Linked DNA regions of Homo sapiens: region 2 is linked to region 1. The links are contacts of gene promoters, found by promoter capture Hi-C in blood cells and fetal thymus (Javierre and others, 2016). All regions are on one chromosome and are shown on one strand. Each heading gives the region's core, a stretch centred on a gene start or on the middle of the fragment in contact. The rest is flanking DNA. Distances are from core to core; before and after follow the strand shown. Region 1 holds the start of BRF2 (BRF2 general transcription factor IIIB subunit). Region 2 has its middle 210 kb from the start of LINC01605.

Region 1 (4,296 bases), core at 825-3,324:
TTGGGAGGCTGAGGCAGAAGAATTGCTTGAACCCGGGAAGTGGAGGCTGCAGTGAGCTGAGACTGTGCCACTGCACTTCAGCCTGGGCGACAGAGTGAGACTCCTCTCAAAATAAATAAATAAATAAAATTAAAAAATAAGATAATCACTACCAGGAATGATAACTCTTAGAAGAACTGGGAGCAGTGGAGAGGGCACCAAGATGATTTCCACGTCTGTCCAGATTTCCTGGAGCAAGGCAAATACATTTCCCAAATAAATGGACTTCTTCCTGAGAAAGTGGAGAACCCCAAACTTACACATCTTAGTAGAGGGCGCCATCTTCTGGCCTGGACCCTGCCCCCTCCCAGCCTGTGTGTGCCCGAGGACCAGGCTCTCCTAGGCTCCCAGTAAGTACATCATGTGTGACTGGGAAAGACAACCAGCTTTCTCCTTCCGTGGCTGGCTGCAGGATCATAAAACTGCTTTTCCACTTTACAATCAATCAGGTTGGGTCAGGCAGGATTTCAAGGCTTCTGTCCTAGGTAGATGGGCTCTGTAAAGTCCCGCTTAAAAAAAAAGTGAAGGTAGGTTCAAGATCTGCACACAACTGGGGATGAGGGGAGTCTGATGCTCTGCTGTGTGATCATGCAAGGAACTGTTCCCAGTGCAAGTTATGTCGCTTTCAGGGACACTTTCTTCATCCAAATAAGAATGTCAACCACACTAAAACTAATGGATGTCTCTGAGTGGTGTGTGTGTGCGGGTGCGCATGTGCAAATGTATCTTAATATTTAACTGTCAGACAGCCAGAAATAAGCTCTCATCCTGTATCTCACGCTAGTGGGGAGGTCTAGAAAAGGCGGGGGGGCTTGGACTGCCGGATCCCACCCACGATTAATGTGCTGAAGCCCCCTTCTGTTATGATACTAAAGTAATTCAAATTGAAGAGAAAGGACCGTTGGGTATTATTGTGTCTCTTGGCCCTCCAATGTGAGCGATCCCCATGGGAATGGACGGGATGTCTCTGAAAAGGAGTAGTGATTCTCACACTCTGAGAAAGCAGTCTCTTAGGGAAGGGATGGTGTCTTTAGGTTTGGATATCACGTGTAAAAACTGGGTGTGGAAAAGAAGGGAGTGACACTTCTTAAAGGTATGTTTTATTTTGTTTGAGATGGAGTCTCGCTCTGCCACCCAGGCTGGAGTGCAGTGGCGCGATCTTGGCTCACTGCGCCTCCTGCGCCTCCTGGGTTCAAGCGATTCTCCTGCCTCAGCCTCCTGAGTAGCTGGGATTAGAGACGTGCACCACCACGCCCAGCTAATTTTTGTGTATTTTTAGTAGAGACGGGATTTCACCATGTTGCCCAGGCTGGTCTCAAACTCCCGAGCTCAGGTGATCCACCTGCCTCGGCCTTCCAAAGTGCTGGGATTACAGGCGTGAGCCACCACGCCCAGATAGCTCAAGGTTTTTTAAAAAACATCTGAATCTGCGTGCTTGCGCCGCTCCAGGTCTCCATCACTCCATATTCTTTCACTCCAAACTCCTTTAGACATTCCTGCCTGGCCTCCAAAAGCGTTTGGGTTTGCATCTCTGGATTTTTTTTTCAACTTCCTCATTTTACAGTTGAGAAAAACAGGAGGTAAAGAGAGGAAGGAATCTGCTTTAGGAAGCAGCTCTGGAAAGCAGAACACAGTTTCCTGCTCCCGCTCTCTCTCCACTACTCTCCCTTTAAAAAATATACTTTCTTCTATGGCCAATTAAACATTCATTACCAACCTGCGATTCCCTTAGGACTTTAAAAGGAGGGTTGTTCAGGGGTGACAACAATCTTCTGTCTGTTATACGTGTCCATGTAGGCAAAAACTTTCCCAAATTCAACCCCAGTCTAGGTCCCAAAAACTAACTACAGAGTGCAGGGAAACCAGACAGCTACAGTTCAGCCCAGGAACCTCCTCTCCTAGCTCACGTTTCTACCCGAGCCCGCGGAGGCACAGACCGGAAGTGGCGCGCAGCCTCCCAGCGGAGGGAACCGCCTATGCCTCCGTCGCGCTGGCCGGAAGACGGGGGTGCAACCCTTTGAAGTGTCCCCTCCTACTTCTTGCTGCCTCACGGTTGCTGTTGCAGACCCAGGAGTCTCTGAAGGCTTCCGCGGCTTTGGGGCCGGTTGTGAGATGCCAGGCAGAGGCCGCTGCCCGGACTGCGGCTCCACGGAGCTGGTGGAAGACTCGCACTATTCGCAGAGCCAGCTGGTGTGCTCCGACTGCGGCTGCGTGGTCACCGAGGGGGTCCTTACCACTACCTTCAGCGACGAGGGCAATCTCCGAGGTACTTGTGGCCCTGGGGACAGCCTGGGGCGGTGGAGGGATTAACATCAGATTCCTTTTGCCTCCCCGCTCCCCCCATACTCCTAACTGTAACGCACACACTTAATTTGAGAGAAAATGACCTAAAGTGAGCGAGGGAGCTGAAGGAGATGGGGGCTGCCATTCATCTGTGTTTTCCCAGCACTTAGTATCGGGCATAGATGGTGCGTGTAATAAATATTGAATAAGTGAGACAGAAACAAAAGTTCCACTCATCTTGCCATGTCTGGTCATTGTGGAAGGATTGCCGATACGATTATAGCAGGTATTATTACCCTGAAATAGTTTTAAGCACAAACTGGCAAAACATCACTTTTCTTTGCTTTCCAAGTTTCTGACCAGTGCAGCCCTCAAAATCTGCAGCCATTGTCTGGGTGGGGTGGCTTACGCCTGTAATCCCAGTGCTTTGGGAGGCAGAGCCGAGAGGATTGCTTGAGCCCAGGATCTCGAGACCAGCCTTGGTAACGTAACGAGACAAGTGCCTAAAAAAATTTTTTTTTAATTAGCCAGGTATGGTGGCATACACCTGTAATCCCAGCTACCCAGGAATCTGAGGTAGGAGGATTGCTTGAGCCTGGAAGTTGAAGGCTGCCGTGAGCTGTGATCGCACCACTGTGCTCCAGCCTGGACTATAGAGGGAAACTCCTTAAACAAACAACAACAAAATCTGCTGCTAGGAAAATTGCCTGTATGGAATGTACTGGAAGGATGACTGGAAATTTGGAACACTTGGAGCTGCTTTAATGCAGTCCTAACCTTTCCCAGTCTCTGTGTATTCGGAACCTCTTGTAGACATAGAAAACCAGATGGGGCCTTTAACTGTGCAGCAGCAGATGCTCAATGATTTGAATTTTGCGTCCTGGTTTTGTGTGGTGGGAGGGCAGGGGTCTGATGAATAAAGGCTAAGCACACTATTTGTTGTTTATTATCTTACAGAGGTAACATATTCCCGAAGCACAGGGGAAAACGAACAAGTTAGTCGCAGCCAGCAACGAGGTGAGAATTGACCTTTTACAACACAGTGGCTTTAAAGAAAACTATCCTAGGCCAGGTGCTGTGGCTCACGCCTGTAATCCCAGCACTTTGGGAGGCCTAGGCAGGTGGATCACCTGAGGTCAGGAGTTCAAGACCAGCCTGGCAAACATAGCGAAACCCCGTCTCTACTAAAAATACAAAAATTAGCTGGGCATGGTGGCATGTACCTGTAGTCCCAGCTACTTGGCAGGCTGAGGCAGGAGAATCGCTTGAACCTGGGAGGTGGAGGTTGCAGTGAGCTGAGATCGCGCCACTGCACTCCAGCCTGGGTGACAGAGTGAGACTCCATCTCAAAAAAATAATAATGAGCCGGGCGCGGTGGCTCATGCCTGTAATCCCAGCACTTTGGGAGGCCGAGGCGGGCGGATCACGAGGTCAGGAGATTGAGACCATCCTGGTTAACACGATGAAACCCCATCTCTACTAAAAATACAAAAAAATTAGCCGGGCGTGATGGTGGGTGCCTGTAGTCCCAGCTACTCGGGAGGCTGAGGCAGGAGAATGGCGTGAACCCGGGAGGCGGAGCTTGCAGTGAGCCGAGATCGCACCACAGCACTCCGGCCTGGGTGACAGAGCGAGACTCTGTCTCAAAAAATAATAATAATAATAATAATAATAATAATAATAAAAGAAAACTATCCTGGTGGCCTAGCCCAGCTTTTCACTTTTCCTATTTTCAGCATTGCTGGTGTGAGGTAGAGTAGAAGAGAATGGTAATTAGGAATTTAAAATGGGGATGGTGGCTCACACCTGTAATCCCAGACTTTGGGAGGCCGAGACGGGCAGATCGCTTGAGGTCAGGAGTTCAAGACCAGCCTGGCCAACATGGTGAAACCCCGTCTCTACTAAAAATACAAAAATTAGCTGGGCCTGGTGGTGCACACCTGTAATCCCAGCTACTCGGGAGGCTGAGGCAGG
Region 2 (4,296 bases), core at 732-3,231, 460 kb after region 1:
AAATGTGAGCTTCCTGAGGGCAGGAATAGGTCCTCTAGACACCTTTATATCCATCCGATGCCTGCTACGTATTGATACTAATGAATGCTTATTGAGCAGAATGAATAAAGTCAGTTCCCAGATATAAGAAATTCATAGCCAAGGAGCAGCTTAAGGAGAATATAGCTTTATTATAAATGAGGGAAATAATCATAGTAATATGTCCCTTCCTGCAGAAACATTATATATGGCACTACTTCTGGTCCTGCCAACAGTGTCTCTTGCGGGCTGGATGACCCCAAGTTCTATTTAGATTTAGGGCATATTTTGACTGACCCACCTCAAATCGTGCCCTGAGACCTTTCGAATATCTTCCATCCAAAGGGGAGTCCCATGCCAAGCTGACCCCATGTGTGGCTGCCTCGCTTTGGGAAGGGTGGGAAGCTGGCTTCAGTCACCAGAAAGAAAAACCCCACCCCTCCCATGGTGGCCCAGGGGCGGGGTGGGCGGGGTGGGGTAGAGAGAAGGAACCGACCTCCCCCAACCTACCAGCCCCCGGGTTCAGCCGGCTCCAGGTGAAAGGCGGTCCAGAGGTTGGCCCACCCTGGCGAACTCCTTGCCTTCCAAGAGAAGAAGACGACAAATGAGACAAAATGAAAAATATAATGATGCATATTATATTAATCATCCTCTCTTTTTCTGACACAATAAATCTTCTCTTTAAACTCAGGGTAGCGATTGCATCATCTCCCTCTCCCCTCGAAACAGCACAGATTAAGATAAAGTGATAGTGCTGTGTCAAAGAGAGCTTTACTGCCACACTTGGGATACAAAGAGAGAGGTTAATTTATCATCGCTGGGGAGAACTGACAGAAGAGAGATATACTACCGAAAGGGGATTTAGCACAGGGCCAAGAAACTTCACACTATTTTTACCATCTGTCACATGCTCTAACAAAGCAGGGCAAAATATGAAGAAAGGAAAAATGAACTATCAAACACTGATGTAATGCAGCCCATAAATCTAATTTAATTACTTTGCATGGAGACAGGTCCTCGAGTCTGTGTGAATATACTGGATTTTCTTGGCAACTTAACAACTAAGTGTTTTAATAACATCACACTATAATTTATTCTGCTTGAAACACAAAACCCCTTTTGTGAGAGTTTCATTTTTGAGAACTGTTAATTTTTTCGGCTAATGTCAAAACTGGCATAAATTCACATGTGAACTTGAAGCCTGACTGTGAAAAAGGCTTAGGTTACTGCATGCCTTTTTATTGTTTGGCACTTTTTCCCCCTTCTGCATGCATTAGAAATAATTGGGCTTTGTTGATGACTTAGGTGAGGAGAGTTGTCTTGCAATTAGGTTTAAATATAATGACAAAGGGTGTGTGGGGGAAATCTTTGTAAAATATAAAGAGGTAAGAAAATGCAATGGGGAAAAAATCCTTATTTTCCAGCAGAATAGCAAAACCTCAAGTGCAATATTCCTGGAATCAGGCTGTCCCCAGAACTATGAGAATTTCACTCTGGAGGATGTAAGATCACAGGGCCAAAGGGACGCTGGGAAGGCAGGTCTGCCCTAGAGGGAACAACCAGGAGGAGAAAATAAATCAAAAATAAAATTAATATTCATTGGGTGTCTTCCCGAATTTGGATGCAGTTACAGAAATTATTGTTAATAATGAAACCCATATATCAAAGGTTATAAAATTCATCTGTGCTAGGACACTATTTTTTTTAGGCTTTGTTCTGAACCATTAAAGATGACATATTGCATTTGTGTGCCTCTGTGTATAATAAGATACATTTAGGTCTGAATCTAACCTAAACTGGCAATTTTGGCATTGAACTCAAGTTCTTAAATGGGGGCCACGACACTACAGTCCAGGGGAGGTCAGCTGAACCCATCCGTTCTCCCATGACCTCACCCACTAAGGCAGGATGGATGGGTAATTAATTTGTTAGATCATCAGTGATTCATGTTGGAAAAATAAAACTCTAAGCCTCTTGACAAATTCATTTGAAATATAATGGGAAAAAAGGATAAAAACTCCTATCCCCCCTCTCCAAAAAAATCCCAAATCCTCATGCTGAAAGCAAATCTAAATACAGAGATAGACAGTTTGCTGAAGTTCATTTATTTATTTCTTTCAGCAACACTGAATACATCCTTACCATATGAGAATCTTTGTCGGACACACCTTGGATGGAGGGGTACATGCAATCGGGTAGTAGAGATATATCAGACTGAAAAATGACTACAGTTTGGGACATTCTAAGAAAGTTTAACCTATCAGCTAATATCCATGGAGTTCATTGGGAGGGCAGATATGGAGTTGGTGATGGTATGGAATCTGGATAAAACAGAAGTGATTCATCTGGAAAATTCTTTTCTTTTTTTTTTTGAGACGAAGTTTCACTCTTTTTGCCCAGGCTGGAGTGCAATGGTGCAATCTTGGCTCGCCACAACCTCTGCCTCCCTGGTTCAAGCAATTCTCCTGCTTCAGCCTTTCTGAGTAGCTGGAATTACAGGCATGCACCACCATGCCCGGCTAATTTTGTATTTTTAGGAGAGACGGGGTTTCTTCATGTTTGTCAGGCTGGTCTCGAACTCCCGACCTCAGATGATCTGTCTGCCTCGGCCTCCCAAAGTGCTGGGATTACAGGCATGAGCCATCGCACCCAGCCCATCTGGAAAATTCTAACAAGTGTTAGACCCCCACCAGGAAATTGACCACAATCTGCATATTGTTGAATATTTACTGAATGTCATCAGTGATTTGGTCTATGTTAAATATCTAGGGCTATCCAAGGGCCTTGAAGCCAGGAAACTGAGGTGCAAACGTATTCAGAGAAGTGCTTTCAAATAAATTTATCTTCATGCCTTTTTCTGAAGTTCATATTCCCCAGTTCAGACTTGGAAAACACTCAATTCTTGTGGTTTCTTGTTCTGTTGAATTTGTGTGGGAGAGAAATGTCCAACCTTGAACTCTGAATGGAGCCCAGTGTGAAAAGTAGTGGTTTTCAGCTGTGCTATTTCAAATGCTCTCATTGGTATTTTTAAGGCTTCCCACATATTCGGTTACTGACCTGGGGCCTGGAATAGTGAACATTAAAAATAAAAAAACAACAACAAAAAAAAACTCAAGCCGCCAGTATTTACTTATGAACTGCCTTGGTTATAGCCCAGCAATCCAACTGCCTGAAAATTAGTGTACAAATTGGAAGTTTGAAGGGTTTCCTTTTTGTCATTTTGATTTCCTCATCTGAAAAATGGGGATATTAGTACCTACCTCCTGGAGTTGTTGTGAGGATTAAATGCAGCTACATATGTAAAGCACTGAGCACACTAAAATGATAGCTGCAATTATTATTTTATTAAAATTATTTTGATTTCACCACCTCTTTCTTCTCCCCTTTGCATTTCTAACCACCCCTCTCGCCTCACCATCTCCTTCTCCCGCCATAATGTACTTTTTTTGCAGACCTACAGGAATCCACTTCCTTCAGCCTCCCCCTTCTGGCCCAGAGGCACACTGCAGCTATGTTGCTTTTTTTTTTTTTTTTCCTATTCTCAAGATAGGAAATGCAAAACAAAAACAAAAACAAAACCCCATCACCTTTGGGGTGGACCCAGGTGGCTGTCTGCAGATGAACCTTATTAGGGAAGCACTTGGCAGAATCAGAAAAAACACCCAACACAGTGTGTGCTGTGTGGCAAAAGAAGAAATTCAAAGGAGTCCACATTCTCAGAGGTCTAGATAAGTTTTTAAGATCAAAGGGGGTGGGGAGTGGGAGGCATAGCAGGGGTTTAAAAGCTAGCACAATTTATGGTATTGTCTCTTTTAATTGGTAACTGTTAGCCCAAGTGCCCGACACAAGGTGAACATGACCTCTCATATAAAACAATTATACTTGAACTCTCCATGCTACTCTGTGGCTCTTCATATCCTTCTTTTAGCAGGTACCTTGCTTTAACCTTGCTGGTCAAGATGACAGATCATTTACATTAACGGGAGCATGATGGGGAAATGCTCCAGGTCTAAGTTGGAAGTGCCAGGTGACTTGGGCAGCCGATAATGAGGACCTGAAGCAAAAACCAAATAGCCAACACACCCATCTTGAAGGCATGAGGTTTCAAGGAAGCATGTTAAAACCACATTGGTCCCTGTGTGGTACCCAAGAGATGTTCGGTCATACTGAATTTTAAAAAATTGCCTTCACATTCTTCCCAGTTGCTTGCTAATAAATGTTTTGTTCATTCATGGGTTCATTTAATCATCAAATGTTTGATGCATCTTTATTATGTGC

The links. Contacts are between HindIII fragments. The CHiCAGO score rates a contact against its expected background, and 5 or more counts as called.
Region 2: a fragment that was not itself captured here is called in contact with the fragment with the promoter of BRF2 in region 1 in 1 of 17 cell types (total B cells); the score reaches 5.5 in total B cells.

Annotation. Positions count from the first base shown.
Region 1 is chr8:37,847,639-37,851,934 of GRCh38, reverse strand. BRF2 (BRF2 general transcription factor IIIB subunit) reads left to right here and starts at 2,074. Exons shown (of 4, transcript NM_018310.4): 1 at 2,074-2,305; 2 at 3,280-3,339. The coding sequence starts at 2,152. RefSeq lists enhancers at 1,869-2,218, 2,259-2,398. The HindIII fragment of the contact is 8,285 bases long and covers 1-4,296 here.
Region 2 is chr8:37,389,857-37,394,152 of GRCh38, reverse strand. No RefSeq gene overlaps it. Among named protein-coding and RNA genes, the nearest start is that of LINC01605, 210 kb to the left of the region's middle. RefSeq lists an enhancer at 489-2,077. The HindIII fragment of the contact is 7,434 bases long and covers 1-4,296 here.